Linked DNA regions of Homo sapiens: region 2 is linked to region 1. The links are contacts of gene promoters, found by promoter capture Hi-C in human tissues and cell types (Jung and others, 2019). All regions are on one chromosome and are shown on one strand. Each heading gives the region's core, a stretch centred on a gene start or on the middle of the fragment in contact. The rest is flanking DNA. Distances are from core to core; before and after follow the strand shown. Region 1 holds the start of MNT (MAX network transcriptional repressor). Region 2 overlaps RPA1 (replication protein A1).

Region 1 (2,586 bases), core at 41-2,540:
CGTCACGGCCTCAGTTTCCTTATGTGTGAAGTGAGAGGATTTAAGGGCAGCCGGCCTCAAAGAGCTAACTCTCCGATTGCACCCGAGCTCCCCTAAACACTCGAGCCCGGAAGACGCGGGCGGGCGGGCGGGCGACGGGGGGTCCCTCCCTCTGGGGAGCGCGGTTCCAGCCGGCCGCAGCGGACCCCGCCCCCGCGCCCCGCCCACCGCCGGTCGCCAGGCGCGGGGAGGGCCGGGCTTCCGCCCTCCACGTTGTTGTTCCCGATTTGGGCCACGCCCCCCGGTCTGGGCTGCGGGCGCTTCGTGTTCCCCGCCCTGGCCCCGGCCCCAGAGGAAAGGGTGGCCCATGGGGTGGCACAGTCCGTATCTCCACCCACATCGAATACGCGTGGACAAAGACTGGAGTTCAGGGGAAGGAAAGATAAAGGCCTGGTTTTAAATGGAAGGTGGTGAAAAGGAATGGAGAGGCCAGGGCACGACTGCGGGATTCCCCTTACGGCATCCCACCCTGGGTTCGCCCAGTGGCCCCATCCGCACCCGCGAATGTGACCTGCAGACACTGGCCCTTTAAACCGAAGGCTGGCGGCGCGGGGTGTCCATGTGGAGCTGCTCCATGCCGTGTTGTCCTGCCCGCCCATTGGCTCGCGGCCCGGTGACGTCCCCTAATAGGATGCGAACGCACTGCGGGGGGAGGAACGGAGACAAAACGCGGAGCCGGACTGCCGCTCCGCTCCCTCCGCTGGTTCTCTTGACAGTCTCCAGTCGCCGGCAGCTCCGCCCAGGGGCGGATCCCGGGGGAATTGCGACAGCCCGGCGATTGCGGGATTTAGGTCGCGAGTGGGTGGAGCGTGGAGACCCAGGGTCAGGCCAGTCTCTGCCATTCCCAAGGTTTCCCTGACCCGGAATATCCTGGTTGGAACTCTGTTAAATCTTGAATTGTTCACCCTACCCTCCCTCCAGCAGGACAGATTTCGTCGTGAACGACCCAAACGCACCGCCCCGGCCCAACTTGTGGCTTGCAGCCGGGGCGGGGCCAGCAGGAAAGCGGAACCGCGGCGCGCACACCCCGCTCGGACCTCTCCCTCCCTGCCCGGGCCACGTGTGCGCGCGCCGGATCCGGGGGGCGGGGCCAGCAGCGCAGGACCCGCCCCTCCCTTCGCGAGACGCCGCGGCCCTGCGGGCGGGGGCTCCGGTCCGGGCTTTGGCTGTGGCCCCGGTGTAGTAGCGGGGGCGGCGGCCGGGGGCAGCGCGGCTCCTTCCCTTGTTGTGTGTGTCGGTGCCTCCTCGCCATCTTGTTGCAAAGCCCTTTCTTGTCGGCGGGACTCCCGGGGGCCGCGGGGCGGGAGGCATCGGAAGGGAGGTAGAGAGGGAGGGGAAGAAGGGAGGCAGTGCCGCCTTTTTTTTTTTTTTGCATCCCATTTTTTTAAATTTGCAATTTTATATTTTGCAAATATTTTGAGAGACATTGATTTTTCTCCCCGTGCTCCCCCGTTCTTCCCTGCGGAGTGCGCTGCGCCGCCCAGCCCTGTCGCCCCCCGGAGGTGATCCCTCCCTCCTGCCTGCCCGCCAGCCTGACCTGTGCCCGGCTCGCGGGCCGCAGCCTCGGCCCCGGCGCGCCCCCGGCAGCTCTCGGCGCGATGAGCATAGAGACGCTACTGGAGGCGGCCCGCTTCCTGGAATGGCAAGCGCAGCAACAACAGAGAGCACGTGGTGAGCGGCCGGGCTGGGCCCCTGGGGCACTGGGGAAGGGGAAGCGAGTGACCCCGGTCCCCGAACCCACGCGAAACCGCGGACAGGGCCCCCTCCCGGGCGGCCTGCGGAGCCTGGCAGCGCACGGCTCCCCGCGAGAGCCGCCGCCTGGGGAGGGGTGATGTGGGCAGTGAAATTAATTAATGAATTCATTAACATGCTGCGAGGGACCTGGCTCCTGCGGGCGCCACCCCGGCTGCGTGGCACCCCTGTGCCCCTTCTGTGGTGGGCTGCTTTTGCGTGGGCCAGCGGAGCCCTCGGTGGCACTGAGGATGTGTGAGCCGGGGGGTGGGGTGAGGAATGGTGTTGCGTGGGGGTGGCAGGCTCGCGTGTGCGTGCGTGTGTGCACGGGGGATGTGTGATGTGAGCCTCGGGAAGAGCAGATGAACGGACGTGTACACGGGCGTGTGTATAGCACACGAGTGGGCGTGTGTGTAACGGAGTGGGGGTGGGGACTACTCTACGCGGAGCAGCTCTTCGGCTTCCCTGGCCCCGTGGGGAGGGTGCGGGGGGCGCTCCCGGCAGATCTACGCGCCGCTTGGGGCGGAGGCGGCCTTTGCAGAATGAAATGACATCGCGTGTCTTATGATCCTGGCCAGCCCCGCCTGACCCCGCCTCCCAGAGCTGGGCTGGGCTGCGCGTCCGGGGTTTGGGTGAAAGCCGGGCTAATTGGGCGTTTGCGAAATGGCCCGCGGGTCGCTGGGGGTCAGCCCCCGGGCCCCCCTCGCTGCGCCCCGCTTTAGCCAGTGTGGAATGTGGCGTGTCTGCGCGTTCCAAACCCGCTCTCGCCTGGAATGTTGCGTGTGCCTGCGTTCCGAGCCCGTTGGTTACACCGGG
Region 2 (2,586 bases), core at 35-2,534, 520 kb after region 1:
CAGAATGGATGTTACCCTGAGCTGCAGACAGCTGCCTTCTCCTGTCAGGTAAGCGGCTAAATCCCTCACAGGGGCACAGCAAGGCCCATCCATCTGTTTCACCACTACTAGCTACACAAGTTCACGGTTTCAAAAGCTCCAAGGAGACATTTGCCACCAAAGATCACTCGTCAGGAGTCAAGGCGGCCCTTCTTACAATAAAAACTCTGCATTGTTATAGCCAAGATCTAAACATCTCTAATCCTTGTCCAGGTATCATGTATGCACTGAGCTTGTCTTTGATCAATGCCAAGTTATTTTATTCTGGGGACAGCCGTGCTTTTTATGTTGACTGGGATCATGATTATTGACAAGTAAAAGATGAAGACATTAATGTGGGAATGCAATTTTAATGTGGGAATGCGATTTTAATGTGGGAATGCAATTAACCTGGAGTCGAACTCCAGAGCCTAAAAGAAAATCAAGCAATAAGAAAAAAGCAAATCTGTGGCTAGTTCTGGTCAGACTATGAACGGGCCCTGCAGTTCGGCAGATACGTGTGGACCGTACTACTCATGAGGATGGCTCAGTGACATGAACATTCCAGAAGATGCTTCATGAAACTGGTCAAACACCAGTGCCATTGGTTTAAATGACTCAAAACAAAGGAGGAGTATGTAAAATGAGCTCATTCTTTAGCTGCTTAAATCCTAAGACACAGCTGGAAACTGACACACTTCCCCCCCATAGACTACAGCTATGGGAATTATTGAAGCTTGGGTGAAAGTGTTTTCCCTGACCACATCAATTCTTGCATCCTGTGTCTCAGTTTGAAGTACTCTTTTAAGACAGAGTTTGAATGTCCTAAAAAGCTAGATACAGTGAGGAGATTTTAACAGGCTCTCCTCATCCCTTGAGTGCTTTGGGAATAACAATCTAATCCTAACAAAAAGCCCATTGTTCTCACCACACTTGATCAGAGTCTAGTGAATACACACTAGAAGATGTGATCGGCACCAAAGACTTGACAGAGAAAGAAAGCATGTGTTCCCCCACGCCACAGAGGCCCAGAGCCTAAACCCTGGAAAGAAAGGCGCCTTCAGCACACCGCTGCTGAAGCCTGGCCGTCCCCTCCTTTGGCAGGATCGAGGTCAGCAGGCAGCACTTACATGCTAATTGCCTCCTCCGACTCTCTAGGTTTGTCCTGGGATTACAGGTTTGTCCGTTTAAGGGCTTTAAAGCCCTCCTCACAGAAGGCATAATGCCTTCAAGAAACACGGAAGCTGCACCACTCAGGGACGAAGGCTTCTGCTTGGCAGAAAGCTCCCATGCTGATTGTAACCAGCTTTTCTCAAAGCCCAGCCTCAAGTAACCCTTTGTTTAGCCCCACAAAACCTACCATCCACGAAGCTTATAGGCCTCTGGGATGTCAGGATTCGCAATGATAGTGCTTGAAGACAGCACGGAGAGGCTCCGTCCACCGAAATCAGAGACTCGGGCTCCTTTGATAGCCAACACGGGCTGTCTAGAACCATCAAATTTATCAGCCTGTAAAAGAAACACCAGACATATACAAGTGTCACTAGCAGGAAGAACACAGAAGATTTTTATAGAAAACAAGGCAAACATTCAATAGTAGAGTGAATGTAATCAGCGTACATGGAATCCATACAAGACAGACCTCACACATGAGAATCTACTCAGAGACACATCAAAACTATCACTGCTTTCCTAGAGTTAGGGGAAAGAGCATTTCCCCGCGTAAAGCTTGAATCACAGCAAATCTCACAGAAGTAAGATAAAGGATTTTAAATACTTACCAGACAGCACAATCCTTCCCATCTACATGGTGAAAGCCCCCAACTCATAGGACAAAACCGCCCCCACGAGGAGCTCCTCCTGTGTGTGCTAACAGCCCCATCCTATAGGACAAGACGCCCCCTCCGCCAACCCCAGGAGCTCCTCCTGTGTGTGCTGAAGGCCCCATCCTATAGGACAAGACCCCTCCCTCCCCCAACCCCAGGAGCTCCTCCTGTGTGTGCTGAAGGCCCCATCCTATAGGAACAGACGCCCCCTCCGCCAGCTCCAGGAGCTCCTCCTGTGTGTGCTGAAGGCCCCATCCTATAGGACAAGACCCCTCCCTCCCTCAACTCCAGGAGCTCCTCCTGTGTGTGCTGAAGGCCCCATCCTATAGGACAAGATGCCCCCTCCGCCAACTCCTGGAGCTCCTCCTGTGTGTGCTGAAGGCCCCATCCTATAGGATAAGACCACTCCCTCCCCCAACTCCAGGAGCTCCTCCTGTGTGTGCTGAAGGCCCCATCCTATAGGACAAGACCACGCCCCAACCCCAGGAGGTCCTGTGCGTGTTGAAGACCCCATCCCAGCACTTACATCTTCCCCCCACAGTGTAGCAGTCACCACCTTCCCGGATGTGTCCATCAAGTAGATATTCCTCTTGGCAACTTCTCTGTTGTTAGACCTCACTGTGATTTTAGTGGCGTCTTCATAGCTCTTGCAGATCCCGATGATGTCTAAAACACATGCACGTGTTAGCAGGAGGTGGTCAAGACTCCCATTCCGACGCCAGCAAATGATGAACGGCAAGCA

What was found. Contacts are between HindIII fragments. The study calls those that stand out against the background at their distance.
Region 2: a fragment that was not itself captured here is called in contact with the fragment with the promoter of MNT in region 1 in 1 of the 25 tissues and cell types used here (adrenal gland).

What each region holds. Positions count from the first base shown.
Region 1 is chr17:2,399,764-2,402,349 of GRCh38, reverse strand. MNT (MAX network transcriptional repressor) reads left to right here and starts at 1,290. Exons shown (of 6, transcript NM_020310.3): 1 at 1,290-1,710. The coding sequence starts at 1,638. RefSeq lists enhancers at 1-323, 695-744, 2,035-2,586 and silencers at 45-364, 1,015-1,324, 1,515-1,594, 1,745-1,804, 2,325-2,586. The HindIII fragment of the contact is 14,706 bases long and covers 1-2,586 here.
Region 2 is chr17:1,879,484-1,882,069 of GRCh38, reverse strand. RPA1 (replication protein A1) reads right to left here. Exons shown (of 17, transcript NM_002945.5): 11 at 2,371-2,510; 12 at 1,379-1,527. Among named protein-coding and RNA genes, the nearest start is that of RPA1, 51 kb to the right of the region's middle. The HindIII fragment of the contact is 3,965 bases long and covers 1-2,586 here.